Regions from separate parts of the Homo sapiens genome. Here region 2 is linked to region 1. Evidence: promoter capture Hi-C in human tissues and cell types (Jung and others, 2019). All regions are on one chromosome and are shown on one strand. Each heading gives the region's core, a stretch centred on a gene start or on the middle of the fragment in contact. The rest is flanking DNA. Distances are from core to core; before and after follow the strand shown. Region 1 holds the start of LINC00908 (long intergenic non-protein coding RNA 908). Region 2 overlaps ZNF516 (zinc finger protein 516).

Evidence for each region. The method cuts DNA at HindIII sites, captures the fragments that hold promoters and counts their contacts. A contact is called where the count stands out against the background at its distance.
Region 2: a contact is called between a fragment that was not itself captured here and the fragment with the promoter of LINC00908 in region 1, in 5 of the 25 tissues and cell types used here (dorsolateral prefrontal cortex, mesenchymal stem cells, mesendoderm cells and 2 more).

The regions. Positions count from the first base shown.
Region 1 is chr18:76,526,380-76,532,316 of GRCh38, forward strand. LINC00908 (long intergenic non-protein coding RNA 908) reads left to right here and starts at 2,276. Exons shown (of 3, transcript NR_015417.1): 1 at 2,276-2,584; 2 at 4,005-4,085. RefSeq lists enhancers at 2,018-2,658, 2,659-3,297, 2,795-2,874, 3,298-3,937. The HindIII fragment of the contact is 15,253 bases long and covers 1-5,937 here.
Region 2 is chr18:76,458,186-76,464,122 of GRCh38, forward strand. It overlaps ZNF516 (zinc finger protein 516), which reads right to left. Exons shown (of 7, transcript NM_014643.4): 2 at 4,843-4,956. Among named protein-coding and RNA genes, the nearest start is that of ZNF516-AS1, 30 kb to the right of the region's middle. RefSeq lists enhancers at 1,320-1,917, 1,918-2,515. The HindIII fragment of the contact is 5,783 bases long and covers 1-5,202 here.

The DNA of each region.
Region 1 (5,937 bases), core at 1,026-3,525:
AAAGATTACCACTATGATGTCTTTTTTATTGATTAATTCAGAGCAAGAGCCAAAGATTAACTATATTTTAGAGACTAAATTACAGATAGTCCCCAACAATTAAAAAGAAAAAGATTATATTCCAACGGTTTGTTTATAAATCAGTTACTTCAGTTACTTGAAGCTCAGAATGCTTTTTCTCATAGAACAAAGCGTCGATTGGGGTAGGGTACCAAGGTAGCACACAGAGGTCAGCCAGTAACCCAATGACACTGGAAATATATTTAAGATTCTCAGCTCCTTAGTCAAGTTCTTTTGAATCCTAAATCCTTACCCTCCCACCCCTAAATCTCTCTGAGCCTTCAATCTATTTTTTTAACTGAAGTAAAACTCACATAGCCTAAAATCAAAAGTGTACAACTCAGTGGCATTTAGTGTAGTCACGGTGTTATGCCACCATCACCTCCAGTTTCAAAACACTGTCCTCATGCAGAAAGGAAAGCCCCCTTGGACCCATTAGCAATCATTCCCCATCCCCGACTCCTTCAGACCCTGGCGACCTCGGATCTGCTTTCTGTCTCTATGGATTTGCCTCTTCTGGACATTTCATACAACTGGGCTCATAACAATCTGTGGTATTTTGTGCCTGACGTCCTCCACTCAGCATAAGGCTTTTAAGGTTCATCCACGTTGTGGCATGTGCCAGTGTTTCACTCCTTCTCATGAGTGAATAATATTCCATCGTGGGGATACAGCACACTTTACTTATCCATTCCCCCTCTTGGAGGGGTGCTTGAGTTGTTTCCATTTTGTGGCTACTGCGAATGCTGCTGCTATTAAACCTGATTTTGACCCTGTGGTGGCATAAGGAGCTCATCAGGGTGAACTGGAAGGGGTGTGCCCCACTGCTGGTGTCTGGTCAAGCAAACCCTCACCCCTTGAGAGAGGAGTCAGTGGGAGACACCACTCAAGTCTCCATAATGAGGGACAATTTCAGGCTGGGACAACATGGTGGAGGAAGGACCTCTTCAGAGAGGAAGTGCACGTAAGGGGCAAGGACCCTAGAAAGACCTGTGGGACCTGTGGAGAGTATGCACGTCCTTCAGATTGAGGCTGGTTTGAGGCCGGGTGCCATGGCTCACGCCTGTAATCCCAGCACTTTGGGAGACCAAGGCAGGCGGATCACCTGAGGTCAGGAGTTCGAGACCAGCCTGGCTGACAAGGTGAAACCCCGTCTCTACTAAAAATACAAAAATTAGCCGGGCGCGGGGGCACACACCAAAAAAAAAAAAAAACAAACCTGGGCTGAGTGCAGAAATCAGTCCAATCCAGGGAGAAATCTGGCAAATACTCTTGGCCAGCTCCTGTTTTTCTGAAAACATAGGTGCCAGAAGAGCATCCGGTAGCAGCTGCCAAGTTCAATACTAGGACTCCACTCCACAGACAATTCTGTCACCCCATTGTGGGTGTCCTGGATGCCCAGAAAACCCACATCTCTTGATAAAGTCCTCCTGTGGTAAGTCTGCAACCCCTCTGCACCCAGCCCCTCTGCTGACACCCCCTCTGCACCCTGCATCTTTGCCAAGTGGGGAGAGATGCATTCCAGAACTCCAGTGGCAGGATCTGCCCTTGCCGGGATCATGCAGACTTGGCATTTTCCAGTACCTACTGTTGCTTGAGGTTTCTTATAATAGAGCAGGATGAGCAACACGACTTCTCGTTTTGTAATTTGGCACATATGTATATGTTTTATACATACATGCTATGTGTCTATATGTACACACGGCAATACATACGTGTATATGTATACGTATATATGTATGTCAACGAATACCTAAATATATAATCATATGAAACAAACTGTTTATCCCTGTTCCATAAACTTCATATCAATTCAATAAATAAAATTTATTCAAAATCCAATCATCCCAACACATTAACATTTAATTTTTCCCTATTTTCTGTCTGTGTTTGTCATTGAATATTAAAAGTTTTGCTTTTTTTTACTATTTCACCTCTTTTCTAGGTAGTCCATAATTTTAAAACAATATATATGGCACCACTTGGTCTTCACAGCTTTCAAGACAGGACTGTCAAGGCAAGGACACTCCTTAGGGGACCCTGTCCCATAAAGTCAAATTATGCGGGATGAGTCAGTGACGCAGGAGCTAAAAACAGTGTCCCTTTAAAAATGTGCATGCCTTTGAAATGGAATAAGTAAAGTACTTGCAGATGCAAATGGTTTCAAGTTTCACTGGAGACCCAGCGAAAGCGGCTGTTCTCAAAGTTGCCAGGCAGTGTGGAAACGCCCACTGAGGGGCACACAGTGAGGCGGCCACTGGCTCTGTGTCCTTGGGGAAGCCCCTTCTGCGGTCCCCTCCATTGTCTGCGTGACAAAGTGGACGTAGAACTCCCCCATTTCCTGCCCAGGGCGGGTGAGGACCCTGCACACACACGGTGTGTTTGTGAGCTGTGCAGAGTGGGGTCTCCCTGGCAATGGCCACAGCCTCCAGGGGCGCTGACACCTCCCGTCTAACTGGTAGACAGTTTCTGCCTCTTCTTGTTTGGGGATTGGAGAGGGAAGTGCGTCTGGATGACTACTAAGGTAAATATGGAATGGGCACCGCGTCTTCCCTTTCTTCTCTCCCTTCCCACGCACCTGCCTGGCTCCCCGGCTCTCCCGCCCTGGCCAGAGTCAATGTGAGCTGCAAAGTCCATATGTGAACAGCTGTGGGCAAGTCGTGCAACAGTGCTCATGGGACTTACTACGCATCTAAGCCGCTGAACTTCAGCTGGACCCCAAATGGCCTTGGTCACGTTTTGTTTCTGTTTTGTCATTTCCGGCTGCATCTCCCACAGTCTCAGCCCTGCGCTCCTTGCTCTGCCTTCTCCTCCCCACAGCTTCTTTGCAGATAACATCCTGGCCGTATTATGCAACTGAACCCATATTATCCGGGGGAAACTTACCCTCCTCTGCTCTCTAAATCTTCCTTTTCCTTCTGGTTTTGGAGAAAGAGGAGCTCCTTTCCATCAATCAGGTCAACCTCTTCCTGTTTCCTTTCTTCATTCTTCGTTATTTTCCACTCCTGAGTTTTGGACTCTTCTCTCGGTCAATAAGTATATCCGAATTCTTCCAGCTGTAAAACCAACAAATGAAAGGCCTCGTGTACCAAGGCTGCCCCCGCGTGCGGCCCCCCGGGCTGTGTGGCCTTGGCCTGGAACACAGCCCCGCTGCCACCTTCCTGCACTCCGTGGGGGAGATGGGCGGTGCACACTACCCAGAAGTGGAATGTGCATTTCACAGAAAATGACCAATTTAAGCAGAAAATTAAAGCAGAAAACGGGGTGAGAACGGCAGACGCGTGTGTGGGCACCGCAGCGTACACGCTTAGGATCCCGAGTTTATTTTTCTAGGGCCCGTGTGTTGGTGCGCATGCGCGTGCGCCCCCACCACCTGAAATCTTGGTAGTGCCTGTTAACCCGGCAGTAGACCCATGGGTGAATTTACTCTCTTCTCTGTGTCTTTCTGTATTTTCCATGCTTTCTGTGACGAACAACATCATACATACCGCTACTTCTTTTTTTGGGGGGACGGAGTCTCGCTCTGTCGCCCAGGCTGGAGTGCAGTGGCGCGATCTCGGCTCACTGCAAGCTCCGCCTCCCGGGTTCACGCCATTCTCCTGCCTCAACCTCCCAAGTAGCTGGGACTACAGGCGTCCGCCACTACGCCTGGGTAATTTTTTGTATTTTTAGTAGAGACGGGGTTTCACCGCGTTACCCAGGATAGTCTCGATCTCCTGACCTCGTGATCCGCCCACCTCGGCCTCCCAAAGTGTTGGGATTACAGGCGTGAGCCACCGCGCCCGGCCACATATCACTTCTTCTATTGTGCATTCACTGCACACCAAGCACTTCTATTGGGCGTTCACTACACACCAAGCCTAAGTAAGGGCTTTCTGTGCACGCTCTCATTTCATGCTTATGACACTCTGAGAATTAAGACCATTTTGGCCCCTGTCTTACAGATGAGGAGGCTGAGGCCTAGTGCTCCTAGCGGGCTTGGTCAAGAGCAGGAGGCGGAGGTGGTGGAAGGCTGTTTCCCTGCGGTGAGTGCTCACACGGTTGGCGGTGATTTCTCCGCAGGGTCTCACAGGCCGGTGCTCTCAGGAGCCACACCTGAAGAATGGCAGGACCCAGGGTGGGCAGAAGAGGAAGGTGAACTGAGGAACAGTTGCAACAGAGGCCTCGGCCAACCCCATGGAGGGCTCTGAATTTGAGAGCCCTGAGAGTCACTCCCCCTGAGGCAGGAGGCCAGGCGTTGCACCCATGCGCTGGCCACTCGCTGGGGACAGGCTGTGTCCAGGGAGGGTACCTGTGTTTGGGTGAGGTGCCCTTCAAGAAGGGCAGTTCCTGGAGAGTCCCCAGATAGAGGTTGTCAATAGTTGACACTTTCTGCAGCTGGCGGGACAGCGCTTGGTTGAGGGGGACTCTGGGTGGCCCACTACAGTGTCTACCACAAATGCCTACCTGCTCTCCAGGATACATTCAAATCTCGCCACCCCCAGGAGGCCTTCTTAGATTCCCATGGATCAGAATGGGCCTGGGATGCTCTCTTCCCATGTCCCTCAGGCTTGCTTGAGCTGTCTCAGGCATGACAGCTGTTGTGGGTTTGAAAGGCTCTGCCACTAGACTGTGATTCCCTGGGGAAGCAATAATCCCCTTTGGGGACATCACTGACTTCAAAACGGTTAAGGGTAAAAGGCAAAAGACCTGCCCGTTTGGGGACATCACTGACTTCAAAACAGTTAAGGGTAGGCCAGGCGCGGTGGCTCAAGCCTGTAATCCCAGCACTTTGGGAAGCCGAGGCGGGCGGATCACGAGGTCAGGAGATCGAGACTATCCTGGCTAACATGGTGAAACCCCGTCTCTACTAAAAATACAAAAAATTAGCCGGGCGTGGTGGCGGGCGCCTGTAGTCCCAGCTACTCGGGAGGCTGAGGCAGGAGAATGGCATGAACCTGGGAAGCGGAGCTTGCAGTGAGCCGAGATTGCGCCACTGCACTCCAGCCTGGGCGACAGAGCGAGACTCCATCTCAAAAAAAAAAAGGGGGGGTAATAGGCAAAAGACCTGCTTCTGTGGCCAGGCAGCGTGCCTTGGGTGTCACTTGTACCTGGCTTGGGAGTTGTCTAGGGATGACTTTGGGCTGCAGTTGGTGTTCCTGGAAGGCCACAAGACATGGCTGCTCTTCCAGATTTGGTGTGGGTGAGTCCGCTGGGAGTGCTGGCTCTTTCACACTGCTTGGAGGGTTCTGCCCGCCAGTGTAACTCACCCAAACTCACTAAAGCAGCAAATGGCAGCTCCAAGACTTAGCCTCAAGGAGGTGGACATCAGAAGGCATTTGATGAGGAAAGGACTCAGGTGCGGCCGCACCTGGCTGTCTGTGGGTGAGGGCCTGGGCATTTGGGTCCTAAGCAGATGGGTCCTGGGTAGGTGGAGTAGGTCTTGGGCAACTGGGTCTTGGGCAGGTGGAGTGGGTCTTAGGCAGGTACATCCTGGGTAGGTGGGTTCTTCTGGGCAGGAGGGGTGGATTCTGGGCAGGTGGATTCTGGCCAGGCAGATTCTGAGAAGATGGGTTCAGGGAAGCTAGATTCTGGACAGGTGGGTCCTGGGCAGCTGGGTCATGGGCAGGTGGATTCTGGGCAGGTAAGTTTTGGACAGATGGGGTCCTGGGCAGGTGGGTCCTGGGTGGGTGGGTCCTGGGTGGGTGGGTACTGGGCAGGTGGGTCCTGGGCGGGTGGGTCATGGGCAGGTGGATTCTGGGCAGGTAAGTTTTGGACAGGTGTGGTCCTGGTCAGGTGAGTCCTGGGTGAGTGGGTCCTGGGCAGGTAGATTCTGGGCAGGTAAGTTTTGGACAGGTGGGGTCCTGGGCATGTGGGTCCTGGGTGGGTGGGTCCTGG
Region 2 (5,937 bases), core at 1,061-3,560, 68 kb before region 1:
GACAAACAGAAATCCTTGATAAAGTCTTTTTGTTTTAAAGCTGATGTGGAAAGGAAACATGAGTTTCATTTTACGTCCTTTCACTTAAAGTTGCAGTTTCCAAAACCCTACAGACAGCACTGTGGACCCGCAGTGCATGGAGCTCCAATTCCTGACGGGCCCAAGTCCTCACAAAAAGGTGCTTTGCAAGGAAAATTATGAAAAAGAAAACGTCAGTGGGGTGGAGTTAAAAGGTTCCTATTTTCAAATACTCTTGCGCTTCTCTCCCAAGCAAGCATCCTGCACAAGGCTCGCTCTCCCTCCCAACACAGATGTTTCGGGGGGCATTTTCTAGACAGGTACGAAGGGAATCCCGTCCCTGAGAGGACCAAGGGCACAGGAGTAGTGCTCGGGACCCTCAGGACGGGGCATGCACTGTGGGCAACGCCAGGCCTCACCGTCGTGCGTGTGCATGCCTCACCGTCGTGCGTGTGCGTGCCTCACCGTCGTGTGTGCGTGCCTCACCGTCGTGTGTGCGTGCCTCACCGTCGTGCGTGTGCATGCCTGTAGGCAATGCCAGGCCTCACCGTCGTGCGTGTGTGTGCCTCGTGTGCGTGCCTCACCGTCGTGCGTGTGCGTGCCTCACCGTCGTGCGTGTGCGTGCCTCACCGTTGTGTGTGTGCATGCCTGTAGGCAATGCCAGGCCTCACCGTCGTGTGTGTGCGTGCCTGTGTGTAAAGGTTAGAGTGTGTGACAGTGAGTGTGGAAGCAGCTGGGTGAACATGAGAGAGACTGAGTGTCATGTGTGAGCATGTGCTAGTGTGCCCGAGGGTGTGTGTGTGTGTCTGAGAGAGCACATGTGTGTGATCTCTTAACCTACATAAAAGCACTCATTCAAATACCCTACCTGGAGGCAAACACGCATGTCCACTTCCAACAATCTACCAGCAACACTCGTGCCCATGTGCCTGGATTACCAGCTTCGCACAGAGCCAGACGCTGCAGCAGTAACGGGGCGCCGGGCCCACCTGCTGCCCCTCTCCTGTGCATAGGGCGCTCTCTCCCTGCCCCGAGCTTCGGCTTCTCCTCCATGCACGGTCACTGCTGGAGGCACACTGGACCCAGTGCCAGCTCGGGAAATCCTGGGCCGGTGACAGCCCTGACCCGTGGCCACCATCCACTCAACATCATTGAGCCCTCCCACAGGCACCCAAGCTCTCTGAGGACAGCCGTCCTAGCTTCCTTCGTGGGAGAAAACTCTGGCCCTCCACTGCCGGCCAGGGAGGCCTCGCGTGCCAAGCTGGCCCTGAGCTCAGCCCAGGATTTGTGCCATTCAGGACGTGGCGGCCGTGTGCACCCCATCGGGCACCGCGTCGCCTCCCTCGGAATGTATTCCAGCACTGTCTGCCATGATGCCAACAGCAACACTTCTCAACACCAAGCCTTTAAATGTCCAGCAGCTCCACAGCCCGAGTCAGAGTGGCCCAGCCTCCCCTGGACCTGATGCGGGGCTTCAGGAAGTGGCAGGGCAGGAGGTAGAACCGGAAGCCTCACGCTACACCAGGCACTGCTCCTGGAGCACAGTGGGTATCCCATCACAACGCGGGAGGATTCAGGGCCAACTGCAGGCCCCCGGAGACGAGGTTAGACGGTGGCAGGCAGGCTAAGAACAGGCGATCCGGCAGGCACAAGAAGGAACATACTGATGATAAGGAAACGCCGGGTGGGGTCTTTACGTAGGCAGCCTCCTTGGCATCGGGCAGGTCTGTCTCACCAGTCCCAAATAATGAATCATGTCCACTGCACTAGAATGCAGTCTTTTAACCACTATCAACATACGCCAAGGAATGCTTCCACTAACAAATGGGAAGAATGCCCAGAAAACACCGCACTGCATTTCTGGACCAGGACTCGTTCTGTTGGAATGTGCCTACCAAACACAGCAAGGGGCGACACTCACCCGAAGGTTGAAACATGCGGAACTCCGATGACTCCTAGTGCTGTTAGCAATCATAAATCCTCATCCTGGCACAGAGCACAGGAGGCACCTCTGCCTGCACTCACCGTCCAGGGCCCTCCTCCGTCTCTGCGATGCCACCCTCATTTCACAGACGAGGACGCTGAGGGTCAAAGCTGTGAGCCACATCCCTCGACAAGGCTGTGAGCCCATTCCCTGTCTTCCTGCCTCCCTGTTACCACCTTCCAGGCCCCCGCTCTCTGGTGCCTGGAATGAGCATTCTGGAGTTGTCAGAACATTCCTTGACCTTCCAATAAAAGGGGTACAATCTAAATACAAAGTAACATCCGGGGCTACAAAAGCGACCACTGTGGCCATCACCTATGAACCTCTAAGACCCCAAATCAACACAAAGCAAGAGGCCACACCATCCTGAGCAGCTGGCAAGTCGGCCACTGACCAGTAAAAAAACTGGGAGGAAGGTGGCTGATCGATCCTGTTTTCCTCCCTTTTTCAACGAGCCCAGTTGCTCATGAAAGACAAGTAGACAGCTCTACTCTGCTTCTGTTCAGGGCTAGAGAGGTTCTGGAATTGTGCAAGTCATGTCAGAGCACACCCCGAGAGAGAGATCACTTGCAAAAAGCTACAGTGAAAATAAGAATCAAAACTCCCAAACCGGAGAAGCCATGCCACATGATCGCCTCGCTTGTTCATGGCGGGTAATTACTTAACCCTTTGTTTTTCCAGAAGTAATAGAAGGGCCTTTTTAAACAACATACTGCCCGCCACGGTGGCTCACGCCTGTAATCCCAGGACTTTAGGAACCCGAGGCAAGTGGATCAATTGAGGTCAGGGAGACCAGCCTGGCCAACACGGTGAAACCTCATCTCTACTAAAACTACAAAAAAAAATTAGCCGGGCGTGGTGGCGCATGCCTGTAATCCCAGCTACTTGGGAGGCTGAGGCAGGACAATCGCTTGAACCCGGGAGCCGGAGGTTGCAGTGAGCTGAGATCATGCCACTGCACTCCAACCTGGGCGACAGAGCCTGACTCCATCTCAAAAAATAAATAAATAAATAAAAATAACAACATACTGAACGGGGCTGACTTATCTGCCTAAACCAAGCTCCTCCTGGACACTCCGTCATCACTGCACACTGACCATGTAATGGTGAGGCCAGTGTCTCGTCTAACAGAACACCGATCACCATGGCCGCAACAGGCACTGTGAAAAACATGTTGGCTTCCTCCGAGCCCTGTGGCACATGCCACTTCCCCACCCTCTGCTGCCTCCCTGACCAAGAGGGCCCAGGGGACCAGCGTCTCCACACACCTGGGACCAACCTGTTGGGCTACACCACTTGAGAAGCCCTGGATCACCCTATTTAATGTGGCCTTTAGAGGAAATTTGGGGGTGGAAGGAGTCATTTGTCACCTATAACTTCTGCAATTGTCAGAAATTCATTTATAGGACACAAACGTTTTGCAATCTTGCCATCCAAACGTAAAATCAGAAAACATACATCGGGTGCTTAAAATGGGCGCCTGGCACACAGTGGGCGCTTGACAAATTCAAGATCCCTTCCTCTTCAGGTCTCCATCCAAGATTCAGCAGTACCGAAAATATGCAGGGACCGCACGGGAACCAGCTTGAGGCTTGTCGCCAACAGGCGAGGGGCCCAGGTCTCATCAGATGGTCAACAGGTATCCCCCGAGTGCCCGCCATGGGCCGGACCAGCTAGCAGGCGAGAAACCCTGGGCAGCCTCACCTGGATGGGAAGGGTGCGGCGTCCAGCCCTGCAGGCGTGTGGTATGTGGGGAAACCGCTCCGCCCTCCTCCTGTGACTCTGTGGGGATGATCTTGCCCAAGCCCGGATATCAAGCGTGCGGGCCCTGGCTCCCACCCTTCCCACATCCGGTTACCTTTTAAATTAATATGACATTTTGTATATTCTTCCAGCATCTACCTTTTTTTCAAAGTGTTTCTGCCACAGAAGCGTGTTTCCAGCCTCCGCCGATGAGCGCTGGTGACCATGCCCACGGGACACACTTCCACGCCAGAGGCCACCCCATCACAGTGGGGAGCGGGCAGGACTTGCACCAGCAGCTCCAGATTTGCAAAACTCAGAGACGGCTTTGTAGGAATCCCAAGAAAACCACTTCACTACTTTAATCAAATGATGACCCAATCGATTACTGAAGAACAACACAAGACAGTTCACACCACATCTTCCTGTTCCCACAAGGGACCTACAGTCCAACACAGGCACTCCTCCAACGCCCCTTTAGTTTAGAAACATCGCCGTCAGGGCAGGTCTCAGCAGAGAGATTAGCGGTCCACCTCATTAAAGACCTGCCTGGTAACAACCGAAACCTGCCCCCGTGCGGACGCAGATGAAGCCTGCACCACACAATTCCATCACTGCGTTAGGCAGCTCTGCTCCGGCACCTCCCAGAAGAGAAGAGAGCTGTCTGCCCAAAAACATCGCCCAACTGTAATAAGCTGTGCAAACTTGGGCAAGAAAAGAAAGTGGGTCTTACTCATATGCAAGCTAATATCCTCGAGCCAATAGTTTTCCAGATCATAAAAAGGAATGGACCCCCCACCCCAGGAGCACCAAGTTCTACGATCAGCTTACACTGGCTGTTTTTCAGCAGAAAACCTCATTCACACTGTGATCCCTATGTCCTCATCAAAGTAGCCCACAGAGGCGGCTTCCCAGTTATGTGCTCTGGTTTAATTATTTTTCTTCTATTTACCATCATTTTACATTTTTCTAGCTATGCCAAGAAAAGCGACCCTACACCATAAAGTAATAACTGTTGTTTTAAGCTTGATTGAAATTCCAGGTTTGTGAAACAGAAGTCAGACGGATTGACAGGAAGGTGATCCAACTGCACCTACCTGGGCTTTCCTGGGAATGTGGAAATGCAATGACAACGCTCCCAGTTGGATGCTGGTACTCTCAGCTAAAAGTGTTCAGAGAAGGACCGAACTCCACTCGGCCTCTCTCAGATTCTGAAATGAGGAAAAGTTTAGTATTCATCTAATTATGTTTTTAAGAACCATTTGCCACTGCTTCTCTTTAAGAAAAATTAAAACAATGCCCAAGGACGTTTTGGGGCTACCGTAGGTATTTTCAGAATGAATTAAATCACCCCAAGTGGGGCTGCTGGGAAAATCCCACACAGTGTGGTTTCTAATAGGACTTCCCACATCTGTGAGGGGCAGCCAGGAGCAGGAGAAGCATTCAACAGTCACAGCACAAACGCAGCAGCGAAGGTAACCAGGACGCCGCCTAACTGTAGCAGCGGAACAATCTGCATTTAGTTGTCAATCCAGCCTATCAAAATGTCACCAGGGAACACCTGCTATGCATATGCCCTGAGCTCCTGGCATGGACTGCGCTTGGTGTGCGCATCACACTGCCGACCGCCAGAAATGCCAGGCCCCTGGGTGGCTCTCGCTCTTCTTGGGGATGGGTCTGTGGGGCGCCACCTACTCACCTCCTCCGCAGCATCTGCGTTTACAAAACACACTAGGGTACTAGGGAGCCAGTCTGTGACCGCAACGCAGACGTGCCCACTGAAATCGGTGTCCCACTTATACCTGGGACCACGGAATCCCCAGATGTTTCAGGGTGTGGCACAGCTCTCACTAGACTTGAAAGTCATTCCAAAGCGATTTGACAGCAAGCTTTAAAACAGACACTAGCAAAGTATTCATAATAAACTATTCCCACTGCCTGAGCAATAAGCAGTGCTCGAAAGCTTATGTTCTCAGTCCTGAACTACACACACTTTTCAAAAGGAAAAAAGACAGAAGAAGATCCACCGAAACAAGATCTCCCCATCACTTCCCGTTCTTTACGGCACCACGCCATGTTTCTCCATCTACAGTCTCAGAAGTGGGACTCAAGGCCGGGCGCGGGTGCTCACACCTGTCATCCCGGCACTTTGGGAGGCTGAGGTGGGTGGATCACTTGAGGTCAGGAGTTCA